Regions from separate parts of the Homo sapiens genome. Here regions 2 and 3 are each linked to region 1. Evidence: promoter capture Hi-C in human tissues and cell types (Jung and others, 2019). All regions are on one chromosome and are shown on one strand. The core of a region is centred on a gene start or on the middle of the fragment in contact, and the rest is flanking DNA. Distances in the headings are between cores, read along the strand shown. Region 1 holds the start of PCDH17 (protocadherin 17). Region 2 has its middle 650 kb from the start of LINC00374. Region 3 has its middle 820 kb from the start of LINC00374.

Region 1 (2,938 bases), core at 96-2,595:
ACATCGATGTTGGACTTTGTGAATAGAAAAAATTGAGAGGAAAATCTTGAACTATGATGCGAGGCTAAGCTGGGAACAATTACTGGAAACCTGATTTTGTTTTTCCTTTTCCAAGACTCTGAAAAATTTCGGGGTACCTCTCGCCTAACCAAGAGGAAAGGTTTAAAAAAAATAAACAAAATAAATAAACCAATACACCTAGCAAAGCAGACGCCTTGTTTTCCAGAACCTCGGACTCCGGCAGAAAGAGGTAGAGTAAAAGTGCTGCTAGATTCAGCTTCACCTTCTTCCCTCCATCCTTTTCTCTTGCATTTTCTTTTTCCCCAAAAACATGAATCTGGTTTTTCTTTCTATAGACTGAGTCAGAGAAAGCGTTAGGAAGAAGCCGCAACTAATGTCTGTGAAGGGAGGACCATGAGGCGAGAGTGAATACGATTCGTTCCGCTGCTTCTGACTCATCCGGCAGATCGGAACACCTGCATTTCTGGATGTGTCATTCCCGTATGTCGAGGCGCCTCCAGAACCCGAAATAATGTGTAGACAGACCTGTGTCTAACATCCCCTCGGAGGGAGCTCCCCGGGGTAGGAGCCCCTGGCTGGACCGCCGCGGCCGCAGCTCTGCACCCCCTGCCCTCCCTGAGTCGCCCAGAAAAACTGAAAGAGAGACTGCAGAATGCATCACGCCAAACCTTGATGTGTTGCTTTCATCCAGCCCACTCCTCCTACTATAAGAGAAAATTGAAGGAAAAAAAAAAACACGTACTTTATTTGCTTCAAATATTCATCACTTTTATTCCTCGCCAAGGTTTTCTTTTCTAGATGAAGAGGACTGGGAGGCAGGGCTATTGGAAGGAGATGCTGAATAGAAAGAAAAGAGGCACTTGACAGCCCAGCCCTGTGAATGCAGAGACTGTTTCCCTTCTAGCGAGAGACAGGGAGAGTGTGTGTGCAAGGACTGGGAGGGAGGCTCCCCCTTCCTTTTTATTCGGCCTCCCCCCTCCTCCTTTAAATGTGCACGTCCAACCATGAGTTGCCTGTTGATTTCCCTTCGCCTGGGAAGAAAAGCAAACTGGAATTAAACTGCTTGGAGAGAAGTCCTTGCTCGCGGGGAGAGGATGGGATGGTAGCGGAGGCTACTGGCTTGGCGTAGAGAAATCAGAGAGTGTGTTCTACGAACAGAGGCGAAGATTTATCTCTCTACTTCCCCCCTCCCAATAGACTCACACAGCAAATGCTGATCAGGCTGTGGCTTTCTTGATTTCGGGGGAGAGCCTTTTCCGAGGAAGAGAGGGAGGAGCCTGGTGGGGAGAGGAAACTACAAATCGGGACACTAGTTCTTTACGCTGCATTTCCTCCCCTCCCTTTGGCTGCTCGGAAAGGAGAGAGAGGAAAAAAAAAATACGCTTGGCTGGTAGATGCAGTCCGCCGCCGCCGCTGCCTCAGCCAGCAATGCAAGATTAGATCTCTAAATGCAGCAAAACACTGCCTGAAAACAGACCGGCCCGCGCAGCAAGCAGACATTTCACGGTGCGCTGGGGAAGCTTCAAAATATATCTGTGACTCTGTCTTCGTTGCTCTTCATCCCCATCAATTTCATCACGGGAGGCGAGCAGCAAGTAAGAATTTCACTTTCGGATCTGCCTAGAGACACACCTCCCTGCTCCCTCCCCCACTCGATGTGAAGAGTATTCCGGAGTCTCCGGGCGGGAGTAGATTTGCAGCACCCTAGCGGGAGCGAGGAAAACCTACTGATTCTTTAGCTCATTATCATCTCTCCCAGACGAGATTTCCTTCTTATCGCCTGCCTCATCGCTCAAGTTTGAGCCTCCCGAAGTCCGGGCGGGAGAGACGAAACCCCTGGCTCACCCCCAGCCGCAGGAAGCCACCGCCTTGCTCCAAGCCCCTGCAGCTCTGCTGCACCGCAGCTTCTCACCCAGTGCGGATGCTGTAGATCAACAGGTTCAGGGAACTTGAGCAGAATAAGGAGAGACCACCGGGTGCCGCAGCTCGGGTGCAGAGGGAAAAAAGGACCCATAGACTTGTGGCTCGCGTCGCGCGCGCACGCTGCGCCAGGGCCCCAGGCTGGCGCGCACTCCCTCTCTGGCTCCTCCAGTCCGATTGCTCCTGCCCCCACCTTACAGGTCTGGGATGTACCTTTCCATCTGTTGCTGCTTTCTTCTATGGGCCCCTGCCCTCACTCTCAAGAACCTCAACTACTCCGTGCCGGAGGAGCAAGGGGCCGGCACGGTGATCGGGAACATCGGCAGGGATGCTCGACTGCAGCCTGGGCTTCCGCCTGCAGAGCGCGGCGGCGGAGGGCGCAGCAAGTCGGGTAGCTACCGGGTGCTGGAGAACTCCGCACCGCACCTGCTGGACGTGGACGCAGACAGCGGGCTCCTCTACACCAAGCAGCGCATCGACCGCGAGTCCCTGTGCCGCCACAATGCCAAGTGCCAGCTGTCCCTCGAGGTGTTCGCCAACGACAAGGAGATCTGCATGATCAAGGTAGAGATCCAGGACATCAACGACAACGCGCCCTCCTTCTCCTCGGACCAGATCGAAATGGACATCTCGGAGAACGCTGCTCCGGGCACCCGCTTCCCCCTCACCAGCGCACATGACCCCGACGCCGGCGAGAATGGGCTCCGCACCTACCTGCTCACGCGCGACGATCACGGCCTCTTTGGACTGGACGTTAAGTCCCGCGGCGACGGCACCAAGTTCCCAGAACTGGTCATCCAGAAGGCTCTGGACCGCGAGCAACAGAATCACCATACGCTCGTGCTGACTGCCCTGGACGGTGGCGAGCCTCCACGTTCCGCCACCGTACAGATCAACGTGAAGGTGATTGACTCCAACGACAACAGCCCGGTCTTCGAGGCGCCATCCTACTTGGTGGAACTGCCCGAGAACGCTCCGCTGGGTACAGTGGTCATCG
Region 2 (2,822 bases), core at 232-2,731, 1.2 Mb after region 1:
TTATTTCTTGATGATATGTTAAACAAGAGTTGGTATTCATGCCTCCTCTTTTTAGACCATATAGGGTAACTTCCTGACATTGCCACGGCATTTATAAACTGTCGTGGCACTGATGGGAGTGTAGTAGTTAGGACAACCAGAGGTCACTCTCATTGCCGTCTTAGTTTCAATGCGTTAGAGCTGGCTTCTTTACTGCAAACTGTTTTATCAGCAAGGTCTTTAAGACCTGTATCTTGTGCTGACCTCCTATCTCATCCTGCAACTTAGAATGCCTTAACCATCTGGGAATACAGCCCAGTAGGTCTCAGCCTCATTTTACCCAGCTCCCATTCAAAATGGAGTTGTTCTGGTTCACACACCTCTGAAAATGGTGTACAAGTATATTTGCTCCCCTTACTGAGGCAGATTAGAGGTTTTTCTTCATCAGTTTATGAACCAACACAATCTGATTTGTATGACTGCTTTGGGACAGACTTGATACCCATGGATTTTAACATAGAATCTGAATACCAATCAATTCTCATATCCTGAATCACTGTTTATTTAAAGAAATGAAAGATGGGCCAAAGGTTAAAAATTCTCCTTTTATCATTTTCTTTATAGTCAAAGCAAAAGGGGTGGTTCATCTACAGTGATTCTTTTTCAGAAAAGTAATGTCTTTGATGTTTAAGGGAGGAAACAAGCCTTCTGAAAACTACTATTCTCACTCCTCAGGAAAAAGAGAAAAGAAAAGGAAAAAAAAAAAACTAATCCAAACACTAGTCTTTTGAAAGAGAAAAATTCTTTTGGGTGTACTAAAGCCTATTTTACCATTGAATTTTGAACATATTCTCAAGTTATATTAGAACATAATGTATTTTCATTTTAGTGTTAGGCCAAATATTATATTAAGTAATGCCTTTACCAATTCAGTTATGAATTCTACAGTCTATAATCCTCCTTTGTATGTTTTAGTAACTCAAAATCTGCTCTATTTCTTCTAAGAATAATTTTCTAATATTCTTCTTTTTCCACTAAAGCAGACTATTTCTTTTTATTGAAGTTCCATTTTGCAATGTTCATTAGATGTTGAATGTCTGTCAATATCCACAAGTCTCCATGTTCCCCATCCTTTATGCCTTTCAACTTTCATTTTCCTCAGTGCAAACACTTCCATATTTTTACTTTCATATTATTCTTTAAGGACTTGAATGATGACAAAACCACTTTCAGAAAGAGCTGGGTCAGTAATATAAGGCATCTTTTATAAGATTCTCTACCATGCATAACAGAGCAAAACAGGAACCAAGAGAAAGCAAACTAGAGTTGTGTGAAATTGCTCATTTATTCTCAAATAGTTTTCAGTTTTTCATGAAACTGCTGAAAAATTCACAAATTGTATTCCAATGAGATGAATGTTTTTTTCCTAAGTTTTCATCAAAACTTTCATCTTTGGGTACACATTGTATATGCATAAGACATCCTGTTCCTATGTGTGTTGGTAGTACCTGCTTGTTCATAGGCATGAAAATGAAAGAAGGATATTAAATATGTACAAACTGCCTGATTGGATAAGGAAAAATGCAAATAGTGCTGTGTGTAGTGAATACACACCGATGTATGGGTGGGTGTGCACGTTTTCCCCTTTTCACAAGTCCAAAATAAAGAGACAAAGTTTAAAGATTTTTCTAATAGATCGTTTTTTCTTGATTTGTTCTTTTTACCTTTTTGGCTCATTTTATTGTGAGAAACCAATTTATATATCAGAATCTCTTCACTTTTATGCATAGTAAGGAAAAAATAATAATAAATGGCTCAGATGCTTTGACACTTTCCCAGCATTCTTAGTTTCCAGGTATAAAATTTCCTTTTGATGATAATGTAAGAATTCATTCATTCCCTGCTTCAAGTTGTAATTTTCTGAACAAATAACTTTAAATGTCATTGTCCCTGTATTCTATACTACTACAGCAAGTTTGAGGATGTGCTAGTTCGAAATACATATAGAGGGTACATTAAAATTGGTTTTCATTTATATGCATTTAAATAATATTAAAGTACTGCTTAATTTGGGTGAAGTAAATTATTCTCTCATATAACACTGACCGAGATATTTGCTATAAAATATTTTATATATTTGATATAAAATGCTATTTCGAGCCACATAAGTGATTTTTCTTTCCTCCTCCCCTTCCTTCCTTTCCTCTCTCCCTTCCCTTCCTTCCTCCCATCCTTTCTTTTTCTTTTTCCTTTCTTTTTAAGTTTTATTTTCCATTTCTTTCTTCACTGTCTTCCTTTCTTCTTTCATTCTTTCTATTTTTATCTTTTCTCTTTCCTTCCATTCTTTCCTTCTTTTCTTCCTCACACCCTCCCTCCCACCCTCTCTTTTTATCTTTTTCCAAAATCTCAAACCTTCTCATATTTGATCTTCCATTTTCACAAAGGCCAGTCAAAAAACCTAAAGTGAAGTTGGGTAGAGGTAAAGCAGTAGGATATAGCGAGGTCTGTGGACACTTGGAGTCAGTGTGCCCAGCCTAAAGGCTTTAAATTGTAAGAAGTTTTATAATGCTCTGGGAGGTGTATTCAGCCTGCTTTATTCAGTTTGTAGTGCCATGCTAAAGCTTTGAAACTTTAAACAACTCTTTGTCTTGATTTCCTATACCTCCCATCTACCAATGGATTCATTTATATTCTTCTAGGACTTTCATGGTTTTGCTTATTGAGGATAGCTTGATAAGAGATTATCACAGTCAACCATATACCGTGTCTTCTCAGCATACACAAGGCATCTTTGTAAGCGTATGTGAAAGGTATTCTGCATTTTTAAATTTGTGCTTTTAAGA
Region 3 (2,700 bases), core at 64-2,563, 1.4 Mb after region 1:
CTGTAATCCCAGCACTTTAGGAGGCCGAGGCAGGCAGATCACCTGAGGTCGGGAGTTTGAGGCCAGCCTGACCAACATGGAGAAACCCCGTCTCTACTAAAAATACAAAAGTAGCTGGGCACAGTGGTGCATGCCTGTAATCCCAGCTACTCGGGAGGCTGAGGAAGGAGAATTGCTTGAACCTGGGAGGCAGAGGTTGTGGTGAGCCGAGATTGCACCATTGCACTCCAGCCTGCGCAACAAGAGTGAAACTCCATCTCAAAAATAAAATAAGAATAACAATAACAATAACTCCAGACATTGCTAAATGTTCCCTGAGTAATAAAATCACAGCTGGGTTAGGATTACTGAAGATGAATAAAATAAATATTAACTTTTCCAACTTCCCTCCTGGCTTGGAGGTGACAGATGACCAAGTTATAACCAATGAGATATAAGAAAAACATAAAGGAACTATTCTGAAAATTATTGTCGTCCTTAGATAAAGCTCCTGTTTCTCTGGTTTGGTTAAGGTGCCTCGTTTAGAGCTGAGGTTACCATTTTTTGAGCATGAGAGGAATGTCAAAAGCATACCTGGCATGCTGATTCAGAGCCTGAATGTTGTGAAGCTCTTGCTCAAAGCCAGCAGTCACCTACCCACAAACTTGTTGCCATGAGAGTAAAATAATCCTGCCATTACTATACATGCTTTAGTCAGCTTCTCTTTTACCTGCAACTGGAGACATTCTGCATAACTATAAACAAGGTATTATTGTTTTTGAAACTTCTCACAACTATCAAATGGGGATAATAATACTGGCAAGTTGTAGAAATTGTTCACAGCATGAAAAAAAGACAATATGCCTTAAAAAGATAAAGCTTAACACATAATAGGTGCTCAGTAAATGGTAGCTATTGTCGTCATTGGCATGGTGTCAATTGATGAATAACAAATATACTTTTAATTCCTCCTTATTCTTTCTAGAGTAATATTTCAAAAGAAAGTTCCCAGAACCTCTTATGTTAAAAGGCCTGAAATGACAATTCCTATTGGGATCTAAAAAAAGGATTTAAGGATTAATGGAGCTTCTGAAATTATATTTGAAAAATTTAAATTGCATACATGCATTAACTCAGGACAGAGTCCACTGCTTTTAATGGGTTTTTTAAAGGGGCTCGAAACTTGTTTATCCAAAAATGGGTTAATAATGAACACTTAGAAGCTTCTTGGCTTGGTAGGGTTACTGTAAGTTAGTGAATTTAGATAGGCTGCTTTTGAGGAAAAATAATATGTCAAGAAGTTCAGAAGGAAAAGAGATTTGCTTATTACAAACTTACAACCTGGGTGGTCTGATGAAAAGGAGAAGGCAGGCTGTATAAGCACAGGAGTGATGTTAGCTTTTGAAGAAACACCAAAAACACCTCTTCAAGAATTTAAAATGAGAACTTTCTCTTCAAGAAAAGACAAAAAAAAAAAAAGCTTCCTTCTTTAATGAATTTTGTTTCTTCAATTACAAGACAAAATTGGGAGGTGAAGACAAGACTTTCTCCTCCCTAAAATGGCATATTTGAACTTCCTTGAAAACATAATATAAACAAATACATCGATTATATTTGATTCAATACAATGAGAACAAACTTAATTTGAATTAAATTTGCTGGGCATCATGTTTTTTTGCCTAAGGCATACATTATTCTGGCCTGACTATTATGAATACAATAATTTAAGGTAATTTATCCTAAGCTTTAGCTATCTTTCAAAAAATATTATCAATAGATTATTTTTTTTAAAAAAAAACCCTTCTTTTGAGGAATTCATCATTCTTCCTTTTACATATTTGAGAAAAGGATACTTTTTTCAGAGGAAACTATGGAAAGAAATGATCACAATTAGAAAATGAGAGAGAAGACAAGAGATGGGAGAAGAGGATGAAGGTTAAAAAAATGACAAATCTTGGGAAATGAATCTAATCTTGTGGAGCATCTTTGAATTCGCTATTTTATTGCAACTAATAGCATTTTGATAGGATTAATTTACTTTACATGGATAAGAAAGCTACTCAGAAAATATTTTGTCCACCAATGCTAAATAAAATGAACTCAATTTATATATGAAATTAAATGTACTTACTGAAACTTTATTATAAATTGTCAATTTGAAAAACTAGGTGGAATACTAGAAATTCTCCTGTTATATGACAGAATTTAATCAGTTATCTGGCATGCACATTTGCCACACATTGCATTTTCTTAAACAATAGAACAACCTGTTCCCTGAACCATTTCCCTGAATGAGGCTTGTAAAAATTCCTATAATATCACTGAAGGTCATTGTCAAGTATCAGAGATTTTTTAGATTTGCCAGCAGAGATACCTAAGGAATACTAACCAACTCAGTCCTTCAACAACAATTATCCTTATTAAATAAATGTATCAGATGAATCTTCAGCACAAAAGAAATTAGAACTACTACGGCAAATCTGCAGTGTAAATCCATGGCAGTAACTGATTTTCGCAAGAGAATATTAATCAAGAAAAGTTTTAACTTTATCAACTCCACTAATGAAAAGACATTTTCTGTTACATATCACACAAAGCCTGATGGGGTGAAGGAGTGCAAGCCTTAAGCCTCTAGATTTTAGCTGATGTATTACTTCTCCAAATTCACAATGCTTTTGAAGTGCCTCAGATCTTAAATCAAGGAACCTGCACTACAAAGAA

Evidence for each region. Contacts are between HindIII fragments. The study calls those that stand out against the background at their distance.
Region 2: a contact is called between a fragment that was not itself captured here and the fragment with the promoter of PCDH17 in region 1, in 1 of the 25 tissues and cell types used here (lymphoblastoid cells).
Region 3: a fragment that was not itself captured here is called in contact with the fragment with the promoter of PCDH17 in region 1 in 1 of the 25 tissues and cell types used here (lymphoblastoid cells).

The regions. Positions count from the first base shown.
Region 1 is chr13:57,630,399-57,633,336 of GRCh38, forward strand. It overlaps PCDH17 (protocadherin 17), which reads left to right and starts at 1,346. Exons shown (of 4, transcript NM_001040429.3): 1 at 1,346-2,938. The coding sequence starts at 2,149. RefSeq lists an enhancer at 1,853-2,532. The HindIII fragment of the contact is 5,195 bases long and covers 1-2,464 here.
Region 2 is chr13:58,878,061-58,880,882 of GRCh38, forward strand. No RefSeq gene overlaps it. Among named protein-coding and RNA genes, the nearest start is that of LINC00374, 650 kb to the left of the region's middle. The HindIII fragment of the contact is 3,239 bases long and covers 1-2,822 here.
Region 3 is chr13:59,047,160-59,049,859 of GRCh38, forward strand. No RefSeq gene overlaps it. Among named protein-coding and RNA genes, the nearest start is that of LINC00374, 820 kb to the left of the region's middle. The HindIII fragment of the contact is 3,009 bases long and covers 1-2,700 here.